Linked DNA regions of Homo sapiens: regions 1 and 2 are each linked to region 3. The links are contacts of gene promoters, found by promoter capture Hi-C in human tissues and cell types (Jung and others, 2019). All regions are on one chromosome and are shown on one strand. Each heading gives the region's core, a stretch centred on a gene start or on the middle of the fragment in contact. The rest is flanking DNA. Distances are from core to core; before and after follow the strand shown.

What was found. The method cuts DNA at HindIII sites, captures the fragments that hold promoters and counts their contacts. A contact is called where the count stands out against the background at its distance.
Region 1: a fragment that was not itself captured here is called in contact with the fragment with the promoter of PRF1 in region 3 in 2 of the 25 tissues and cell types used here (adrenal gland and heart left ventricle).
Region 2: a fragment that was not itself captured here is called in contact with the fragment with the promoter of PRF1 in region 3 in 1 of the 25 tissues and cell types used here (adrenal gland).

What each region holds. Positions count from the first base shown.
Region 1 is chr10:70,805,113-70,808,515 of GRCh38, forward strand. No RefSeq gene overlaps it. Among named protein-coding and RNA genes, the nearest start is that of SGPL1, 9.1 kb to the right of the region's middle. The HindIII fragment of the contact is 4,615 bases long and covers 1-3,403 here.
Region 2 is chr10:70,826,120-70,829,554 of GRCh38, forward strand. All of the region lies in intron 2 of SGPL1 (sphingosine-1-phosphate lyase 1), which reads left to right. Among named protein-coding and RNA genes, the nearest start is that of SGPL1, 12 kb to the left of the region's middle. The HindIII fragment of the contact is 4,688 bases long and covers 1-3,435 here.
Region 3 is chr10:70,601,149-70,604,747 of GRCh38, forward strand. It overlaps PRF1 (perforin 1), which reads right to left and starts at 1,593. Exons shown (of 3, transcript NM_001083116.3): 1 at 1,497-1,593. The HindIII fragment of the contact is 18,183 bases long and covers 1-3,599 here.

The sequences.
Region 1 (3,403 bases), core at 315-2,814, 200 kb after region 3:
AGTGTTAGGGAAATGGAGACACAGGAAAAGAGAATTCGAGCCTACCTAGGGGTCTTGGGGAAGGTTGCAAAGTAGACCAAGGAGAGAAGGATGTTCCAAGAAAAGGGAATAGCACATGCAAAAGTCTGGAGCTATAAAAGCCCAGGGCATGTTATGGAAACTCTAAGTTGTTCTAGATGGCTAGGGAGACTAGAAGACTCAGATTGTTAGAACAGACCAATTTATGCTTGTTGTCCCAGAAAACTTAATAATATGTCCTTAGTTTCAAAAGTATCCCAGATAGTCACTGTGAGTATAGTTGGGACATAAAGTCTGAGAGTGAGGTGGAAATGGGGGAGATGAAGGTGGAGAGAAGCAGCGGCTGATCGTAGAGGTCACTGTGGCCAAGTTCAAGAAAGGCATTCAGTTAACTGGGCTTCTTATGGTGTCTTTCCCTTCAAGGTTATCTTCTCCAGATATGATCTGATTCACAGATAGATCAATACAGCCACTGACAGATGATTATTGCTATGGGCTACCATTTACGGAGCGCTTACCAGGTAAGTGCTTTCCATGTAGGCTGGGGTGAGGCCCAGGTAACCTCTGCTGACTTAGTTATGCTTGTCCTTTAACTGATTCTCTGCCAGTAGGCCTTGGGTTTTGACTTGTTTTTACTGTTGTGAGGTCATGTCCTGAGACAACATTGGGCAAGTCCCAAAGGGCCTTCTGTTCCCAACTAGAAACTTTGTAAGCTTTCCCTGGAGGGGGACAGCTGAGGTCAGGAGATGGCTACTAGCTATAAACAGTTTGTTTTAAAGGACTTGTATGATGTCTGTATTGAAGGGATTCATATGAATATTCAAATGAAATGAGTTGAGTTTGTTCTAAGATGATGCAGTAGCTAGGAATGTTGAGTTAGATGTTTGGATGGGCAGCCAGGGCACATGGTTTAAACATTTGACGCACTTGAATTCAATGGATAGTGGATAGCAAGAGTGGGCATTTGAAATATGTCTGAGTGAGTGGTTTCCTCTGCAGCACCTCCTGCAACAGCTGTCCCTAAGTGGCAGGTGTGGGTTTATACCCTAAAACTGAATGTAGCAGTGCCCTCAAGCAGACCCACAAGGACTAGCTTGAGGCTGCTTTGTCTCCCAGAAAGACAGTTGGCAGCAGCTATTGGAGGGCTCTGCAGGCTTCCAAGTCCCCACCACTGCCCCAACACTTGGGTGGTCAGTGGGCACATGAGGCCACTGAGAATGGTCATGTCACCCTGCCCTTCCCATTCCTCCATTGCCAACCTACTGAGGTTTGGGGCTAGCGTGAGAATCTATTTGTGTTAGCTTGCTAATCAGGCTGTTGTAACAAAGTGCCACAAACTGGGTGGCTTGCACAACAGAAATGGATTGTCTCCCATTTCTGCAAGATAGAAGTCTGAGATCAAGGTGTTGGCAGGGCTGGTTCCTTCTGAGAGCTATGAGGAAAAACACGTTTCATGGCCCTCTCCTAGCTACTGGTGGTTTGTTGGCAACCTTTGATGGTCTTTGGCTTATAAAGTCATCACTCTGATTGCTACCTTCATTTTCACATGGTGCTCCCCCTCTATGCATGTCTGTCCAAATTGCCCCATTTTATAAGGACACCAGTCATATTAGGCTAGGGGTGCACCCTATTCCAGTAATACTTCATCTTAACTCATTACATCTGCCATGACCCTATTTTCCAGTAAGGCCATATTCACCACATGGATTGTTGGGGGACACAGTTCAACCCATAGCACTTAGGATAAATTGAAATAGCATCAGCATGAACACAATTACTCTACTGGTTACTTCTGCCAAACAACCTTCAAGTCAGAAAGAATCCTGTGGTTAAGGGAGAGGTACCGCAATCCAGCTGCAACAAGTTAAAGGTGTAGCCCACTAGCTATGGGTTAGTTTGCCCTGAGCTCTGAATGTGACTTCTTCCCTGGGAATCTTGGCTTGAGGGCACATGTGGGAGCCTGCTTGCCAGGCACAGGGTAGCCTGTGGCTTTGGGAGTCTTGTTTTAATCTGTTCTGTCACTTTCCAAAGGTCTGTCTTCTAAGCTTATGCCATTGTTGTACCCTAGAACCAACTATTTTCATTCTTTGCTGAGTACCTTTTCTGCCCATATGAATTCTCTCCTAGCCATTCTCCATACCACGCAGACGGATTGTTCTAAAACACAAATGTGATATTGTCAGTCCCTTGACTGAAAAGACCTCAACGGCTGTTGCTCTTTGGATGAAGATCAAAACACTGTTTCCTACAGGACTGGGAGGTCTCAGACAGGAGGATTGCCATCTGCATTTGCATTTATTTAAAAAACAATTGAACTGGTGACATTCTGTTTCTTGATCTGGGTGGTGCTGAACAATGGTGTTCACTATGTCAATATTCATCTAGCTCTACACTTTGATTTGTGGACTTGTCTGTACATACAATGTATCCCAATTTTAAAAAATCTTCAAAACAACTGAATGAGTTGCCCAAAGTTCTGGGAGTTCCTTGGTCGTATTACACTTTATGATCTTTTAGATCTCTTGACCAATACCATACAACTAGAGATTTTTTTCCCCCTTTCTATCTTGGGAGGAAAAAGATGGAATTAACAAACAGAGGTGATTCAGTGAGTTACATTGTGGTCACAAGATAAATTATGCACATTGCGACAAGAAAACCACATAGTCCTATAAAATTATGGGCTGTTTTTATCCAGAATTATGCTGGCTTTCTATTTCCTGTTGTTGATTAAGAATAAAGAGGGACCTGCCTGTTGCCCCTGCCTGCAGCGCCTAGAGGAGAGAGAGAAGTCATGATCAGCCTCATTTCTGCCCCAGGGACTGCATTATTCCCCTTTGAAGCAACAGTGCTTCCCCTAGAGCTTGGTCAAGGAGAGGGGCTGCAGGCAACCCCTGTGTCTGCCCCAAGAAAATGGGAGTTCTGAGCAACTTGGGTGTATGGAAAAAGGAAGCACTCTCCACAGATGGCTGAAAAGCATTGTTGGTAACATATGAAGCTTGAGTCTAGGGGTAAATGACAAGCCCTTTAAGTGGGCTCTGTTTCTTGGAGTGCTGAACTGTTCCCACTGTTTAACATAAAGAACCAAAGTAGCCCTTGCAAAGAGAGTGAGAATAATCTCTGACTCTGGCAGGCTCTTAGGACATCATAATTTTAAAATTGAGAGAATTTTTAAAAATCTAGATTTCTGTCTTTCCTTGGAAAATTGAGATGTTGAACTACCCTACTATGCTATTAAAATTGCCAGGTATGGTGGCTCATGACTGGGAGGCTGAGGCGGGTGGATCACCCAAGGTCAGGAATTCAAGACCAGCCTGGCCAATGTGGTAAAACCCCGTCTCTATTAAAAATACAAAAATAGCCAGGTGTGGTGATGTGCATCTCT
Region 2 (3,435 bases), core at 532-3,031, 230 kb after region 3:
GGTTGCAGTGAGCCAAGGTCACACTACCGCACTCCAGCCTGGACGACAGAGTGAGACTCTCTCAAAAAAATTACAACACAGTACAATACAATACAACACAACACAACAATACAATACAATACAGTACTACAGTACAATACAATACAATGCAATGCCAGTACAATTCCATTCCATTCCATTCATTCCCATTCCATTCCATGCCGATAAGGCCATTCCTGAGTCTTTGAGGTGCCAGGCTGCTTCTGTCTGTCATTCCGCTATCAGTAGTGCATCCCCTCCTGGGCCAGGGTAGCTGCCTGGGGTTCTACCTGTCAGGTTCATGTTTCATTCATGAAGAGGAAGAGGAAACGGAAAAAGAAGGGCTTGCCCTCCATTTTAATTAAAAATTATTTTGGAATTTATTATACGTGCAGAAGAGTATAGAAAGCACATATCTACATTTTAATGAACAATAATAAAACAACGATACCAGATTAGGATATAAACCATTTATCTCTAACTCTACGCTTCACCCTGTTACAAATATTTCCTTTCTTCCCCTCTATGGATAACCCCATCCTGACTTTTATAATTATTCCCTTGCCTTTTTAAAAATAGTTTTAACCACCTGTGTATGCATCCTAAGTTTAGTTTGTTTTTTTTTAAACTTGATGTAAATGGATGCATATGTATTTTTATTTTTGTGATTTTCCTGTGTTGCTCAGTATTCATGCGATCCATGTTATTGCATGTAGTTTAAGTTCATTCATTTTTATTGCTGTATATATAGTATTTTATTGTGTGACTAAACTGCAGTTATTTATCCATTTGACTTATAATTCACATTTGGGTTGTTTCCAATTTGAGGCTTTTTCAAACATTGCTGTTATGAGCGTTCTTATATAACAAGTGATCACAAGTGCAAGAGTTTTTCTGGGATTTGTGCCTAGGAGTGGAATTGCTGATTGTAAAGGCATACATGCCTAACTTCACTAGATATTGCTAAACTTTTCTGAAGAGGCCAATACAATTTATACCACTATCAACAATATATGAGAGTTATTTCCACCCAACTTGGCAAACCTGATATTTATAAAGCTTATTTTTTGACAATCTGGTAAGCAGATAAATGTAATTGTAATTTCCGTATGCATTTCCTGATAACTGATGTGGTTAAGTACCCTTTTCAATGTTTACCAACCACTTGGATTTTCTGTTTTGTGGCTGCCTCTTCAAGTCATATGCCTTATCAGTTATTTCTCCTTTTTAGTTCTATTATTAATAGATTTTGCTGTATATTTGCTGAGATTTTGTTACTAGGTGCATTCAGATTTAAAATTGTTACATCTTGTAAGTTGAGCTTTTCATATAATTTGCTTTTTGACATAATATAGCTACATCAGCTTTTTGTCATGAAATAGGAAACTTCAAATGTATGATAAATGAATGAGTTGCCTGTTAGTATAGGCAGAAACTGCAGAACAATCCTAGCCCATTATTCAGGCTTTATGTATCAGCGATTTGTTCTGTTATCCCATAAAGTGAATGAGTCATTTTTGAGTTTAAAAAAATCATAGGGCTTTTTTTTTGAGGTCCAATTTGCATACAGTAAAGGGCACAAATCTTAATTATCCAGGTCAGTAAATATTTATGTATGAATATACTTCCAGATCAAGATATTAAACATTTCCAGCACTCCAGCCAGCTTCTTAATGTCCCTCCCAGTTGATACCTACCAAAGGTTTTGCTTAGTTTTGCTGATTTTGAACTTTACATAAAGTGGAAACATACAGTATATTCTCTTTTGTGAGTGGCCTTTTTGCTCAACATTGTGTTTGTGAGATTCAGTCATGTTCTTAGGTAGCATTAGTTTTTCTTTCTTATTGCTGTGTAGTGTTACAATGTATAACTATATTATAACTAATTTGTTCTGTAGTTGTAGAACATTTATGTTTCTAGTTTTTTGGCTATTGTGAATGACACTGCTGCCTTCTTGAACATGTCTTGGTAAACATAAAATGTAGAGTTGCTGTGTGGTAACGTGTACTGCCAAACAGATTTCCAAAGTGGTTGTACTAATTTACGCTACCAGAGTTTTAATATATAACTTCTTGATTTAGCTTTGGGCAGCAAATGTTAAATTTCTGTCATCTGCATACCACACATGGAGAAGAGCACTGAGAACTCTTTCCTGAAGTTGTATAGGCACTTTTATTTTATTTTTTATTTTTATTTTTTTCGGAGACAGGGTTTCACCCTGTTGCCCAGGCAGGAGTGCGGTGGTGCGATCATGGCTTCCTGCAGCCTTGAACTCTGGGTCTCTAACCATCCTCATTGAGAAGCCTCGGCTTCCTAAAGTGCTGCGATTATGGGTGTGAGCCACTGTACCCAGCCTGTACAAGCAATTCTAAAATGTGAAATGCCCTTCCTTTTCTGTAATTTCCCCAGAGAGTAAAGCCTACTGCATTCTTGTTTATCTAGTCTGTAAATGTTAATACACAATTGATGGGAACAAAGCAACCTTAGTTCTTTTTGAGTATGAAAAGGACCCTGTTAAGGGCAGAATTTAAAATATTTGTAGTAGTTAATTCTCAGGTTAAAATCATAATCTTCTAGAATGCTTTAGATTCTAAGTGGCTATTGTAGTAACACTTTATACTCAATATTGGGGGACCATGTTTTTTGGAGGCTTTCACTGAAGCATTTAATTCCATTCTTTTGAATTCGTTTTGACAGATGGGTCTAAAAAGGAATAGATCAATTCTGTATTGAATTCCAGTCTTAATGGCACCGAGTCTTTGAGACAATTGAGGCAAATTGGAAATTCTGTTTTCACATTCTTCTGAAAGGGGATGCCTTTCAGAAGTGTCCTGAAGGGCGCTGGGGAGGGCAAATATGAGGATGCCAGGGTAAGTCTGCTCCCTGTCTGGCTGTGTTGGGCCAGAGTGGAAGAAAGCCTAAGACTCTGTTACCCAGCCCTTTCTGAAAATGTTTTCAAATGCTTTCCCAACAATCACGACCACAAGAGTCAACAGTCTGTTTGGATGACTGAAAACACACAGGTTTACGATCTGTAAAGATAGTAGGTAAGTGATTTAATCTTGTTGTATAGGTAGGCCAGAGGGCACTCGCAGCCTTCTGATTGATTTAATAGATTGTTGAAGATTAAGAGTTGACTTAACATCTCTCTTAGAAAACTGAGAAATAGCTCATTACTAAGGTGTGTTTTATTACCACCGTCTGTAAGAAAATACAACATAGGCATGGGAATCAAACTACTTAAAGCCTCTTCCAGCTCCTTTGTGACTGGGAAGGTTACTTTTCCTTGTTGCTTATTGAAGAGAAAAGGAAAATGTTTATCATTGGATAATTCAGGTTCACTGAATATTTAATGAGTGTTTATTATCTGCAGTCATTTTCTTATTACCTTATCTCATTTAATATTCACAACAACCC
Region 3 (3,599 bases), core at 343-2,842:
TAGAATTTCCCTAAGGCCTAATGGGGATCTAGGTGGATGGCTCTGTCCCCAGGACACAACTGTGGGTGGTGGGGAGGGGGCTGTGGCCACAGAAGAGGGGACAGAGTAGCTGTAGCAGGTTTAGGGAGGGGTCTGGGGACCTGAGGAAGCCTTCATTCTGAAGAAGTGTCATTTTTGGCCCCAGAACAAGCCACCCTTTGCCCACCCTGACTCTCACTCTGTTTCTTTGTCTCTGTCACTCTCTCTAACCTCTCTCCCTCCCACTGAGCCCTTAACAGAATTGGAAGAGAAATGAGGTCCTATATTGCACCTATTCTTCTCATTTTCCCTTTGGGGCTCTCCCTCTGAGCTTTATGGAATAACATCAGCCCGAATTCTAGAATAAAATCTGCCGACCTGGCCAGGTGTGGTGGCTCACACCTGTAAACCGAACACTGTGGGAGGCAGAGGCAGGTGGATCACTGGAGGTCAGAAGTTCGAGACCAGCCTGGCCAACGTGGTGAAACCCCCTCTTTACTAAAAATACAAAAATTAGCTGGGCATGGTGGCGGGTGCCTGTAATCCCAGCTACTTGGGAGGCTGAGACAGGAGAATCGCTTGAACCCAGGAGGCGGAGGTTGCAGTGAGCCAAGATCGTACCACTGCACTCCCGCCTGGGTGATAGAGTAAGACTCTGCCTCAAAAAAAAAAAAAAAAAGGGGCAGACCTGACCACACCCTTGGATTTTGTGTGGGGAGAGGCCTCGATGGTTGCTCTTCAGATCCTTTCTTGCTGCCCCTCCCCTCTTTGCCACTCCCTGCCAAGCTCTGTGGCCTTCGGCAGTGACAGGGGCCCCCCTATTGCCTACTATGGACAATGATTGTCTGGAAGGTTCTTCCTAATTTTAAGGTGTTTCTGGGGCCTTGCCTGGGCCTGTTTATGATCTGGAACCTCCTTTCTCTAACCTTACCCAAGCCTAACCTTATCCAAGCTGAGCTCTTCAAAGGCCTTTGCCCTTGGGTACCACAGGTTCTGAGACAAGAGGGCTATGGAGAGCCCCCATTATAGCTGGAGCCTCCTGCCCTGCCCAAAGGTGTGACTTGAAGGGTGGAATTTCAGGCAGCGTGGCTCGCCCCAGGGAGGCAAAGAGGCCAGGGGAATCTTCAAAGGCCCTGGGCTCATCCCAGCTAGGAGGCGGGCACAGTCATAACCCTAATCCAGTGAACTCAGCCCTCATCCTGACTCTCATGGTATTCTGTCCCAGGGAGCCTCTTTCCAGCTTTCTTAGAAGCTTTAATGTCAGCACTTGCAGGGCCTTAGAAACTGCACGCTACCTCTTCATTTCATACATGAGGAAACTGAGGCCCAGGGTGGACACAGGGCTGCCCAGCGAGTTAGTGATGGGCACCGTCTGTGACCCAGGTGTCTTGTCTTATAGGTCACAGCACTTCCTGCTCCATCAGCCTCTTCCCCTCCACCCAGGGCCCCAGGCCCCCCAATCCCTGCTCTCTCCTTACCTGGAATCCCGTATAGAGAAGCGGCTACACAGATGGATATCCTCTCTTCACCGAGGCTCCTGGAATGGTGGCATCAGCCCCCCAGGCAGCCCACTGTGGCTCCTTGCACCAGCCACCACTCACATCACTTCTACTTCCTGCCCCGCCCCCAGCTGTGGTCACAGGTCCTTTGTGCTCTCCCCTCCCACAAGCACCCACCCTGTCCTCAGCCCTCATCCGGCTCCCCACTGACAGCCCTCAGGAAGCGAGCAGCAGGGCCAGAGGCTCATCTGCCGAGTAGAGCTGCTGGGGCTCGGGGACTCAGGGCACACAGGCGGAGGAGGGCGGGGCGCTGAGGACTTTGAGACTCGGCCCTGGTGTTGATGAACAGGCCAGCAGGGCCATCTCCTTGCTTCTGATGCACAGCATCGCATGTGTGGGATGTAAGAGGCAAGCAGAGGCGGCGGCTCAGAGCATGGGCCTACACGCCAGACCGCCGGGGCTTGGGCAGCTCGGTTATGCACCAGCAGTGTGGACTGGTAGGGTTCTTCAGCCTCACTGTGCCTCAGTTTCTTCACTGAACAATTGGGATTGTAGGTCATGTAGACCCTAGGGGTTGTTGTGAAGTGCTTGGAACTGTGCCTGGCCCTTCTTGAGTGTCAGAGCCTGTGGCCATTCCCTCCTCCCTGAGTGGGAGAAGAGAGATGTTGCTCTAATCTTGCCATCCACTTCCTGCTCAACCTACATCCCACCCTAGCCCAGGCTCCGAACTCCAAGCATGTTCCTCGAACAGGGGCTCCTGCTCCTCGCTTTGTGAGGACAGCCAGTGGCCTCCACGCTGGCTCCAGCCCTGCTGAGGTCGTGGGTGCTGGTGAGAGTGGTCTGGTAGCACCGGAGGACATGTCTTCTGCACTCTGCCTTGCTTGAGGTCAGGGTGGGGTGAGGTTTCCATGGGTGGAGTGACTCACAGGGCACTGGGGGGCAAAATCACACGGCTTCTGGGGTGGGGGCAGCTGGGTAAGGGAGGAGGTGGTTCTCACAACTTGTTCTCATAACTGTGTATATGATGGGAAGAAGTGGCCGCAGGCTCCAGACCACATGTGACATCATGTCTCATGGGTCACACTTTGGGGCTCATCCCTTGCGTTTATGTCCCTGCTTCCGTCCCTGCTCTTACAGGAACAGGGGCTTATGCTGTCTTCTCGGAATCTGGCCCCATCTTCTCTCCGCAGTGTCCCCACCCTCTTCTAGAAACTGCAGCCTCCTGATCACTTTCCAGCTGTCACCCATGGCCTGACTTGGATGCTGAGGCTGTGAGGAGTTTCTTTCCTGACCATGACAGGAAGGCCGGTTTGAGGGACATAGAAGTCCTGCAAAGTATCTGCGGGAAAAGAGAGGCAAAGTCTAAACAGGTTCTGATCCCAGCTTCACCAGAAACTTACCGTATGCCTCACGGCGATAGATATCAACCCCCTTTCTGAGCGTTAGTTTCCTCACCTATAAAATCAAAGAGAGGACTTTGGAATTCTACACATCCTTCCAGCTAATGATAAAATGTACACTTGGCAGGTTTCAAGTGGCTTATGAAGTGGCTAATGCCCAAGAGATGCTAGTGGTTGTTAGGGGATCCATTAAAGAGCCGAAATGACATTGAGGGTGATGACTGTTTTTGACTCGTTTAACTGATGACAGCTGTCCTTCTGAAACTTGACACTTGAATGTGCATTAAGCAGAGTTTTTCCTCAGAGACACAAGTTTCAACAAGTGCGTAATTTGTTCAATCACCAGACACCATGTATATGGTTTTCTTTAGTAACAACAATCTTTAGATGTAATTCACATACCATATAATTCACCCATTTCAAGTATATGATTCAATGGCTTTAGTATGTTCACAGAGTTGTACAGCCACCGCTACAGTCAATTTTAGAACATCTTCATCACTTTCCAGAAATAAAACCTATACCCACTGGTGGTCATTTCTCATTTCTTTTTCTTTTTCTTTTTCTTTTTTTTTTTTTTTTTGAGATGAAGTCTTGATTTGTCACCCAGACTGGAGTGCAGTGGCATGATCTCGGCTTACTGCAACCTCTGCCTCCCAGGTTCAAGCGATTCTCCCACCTC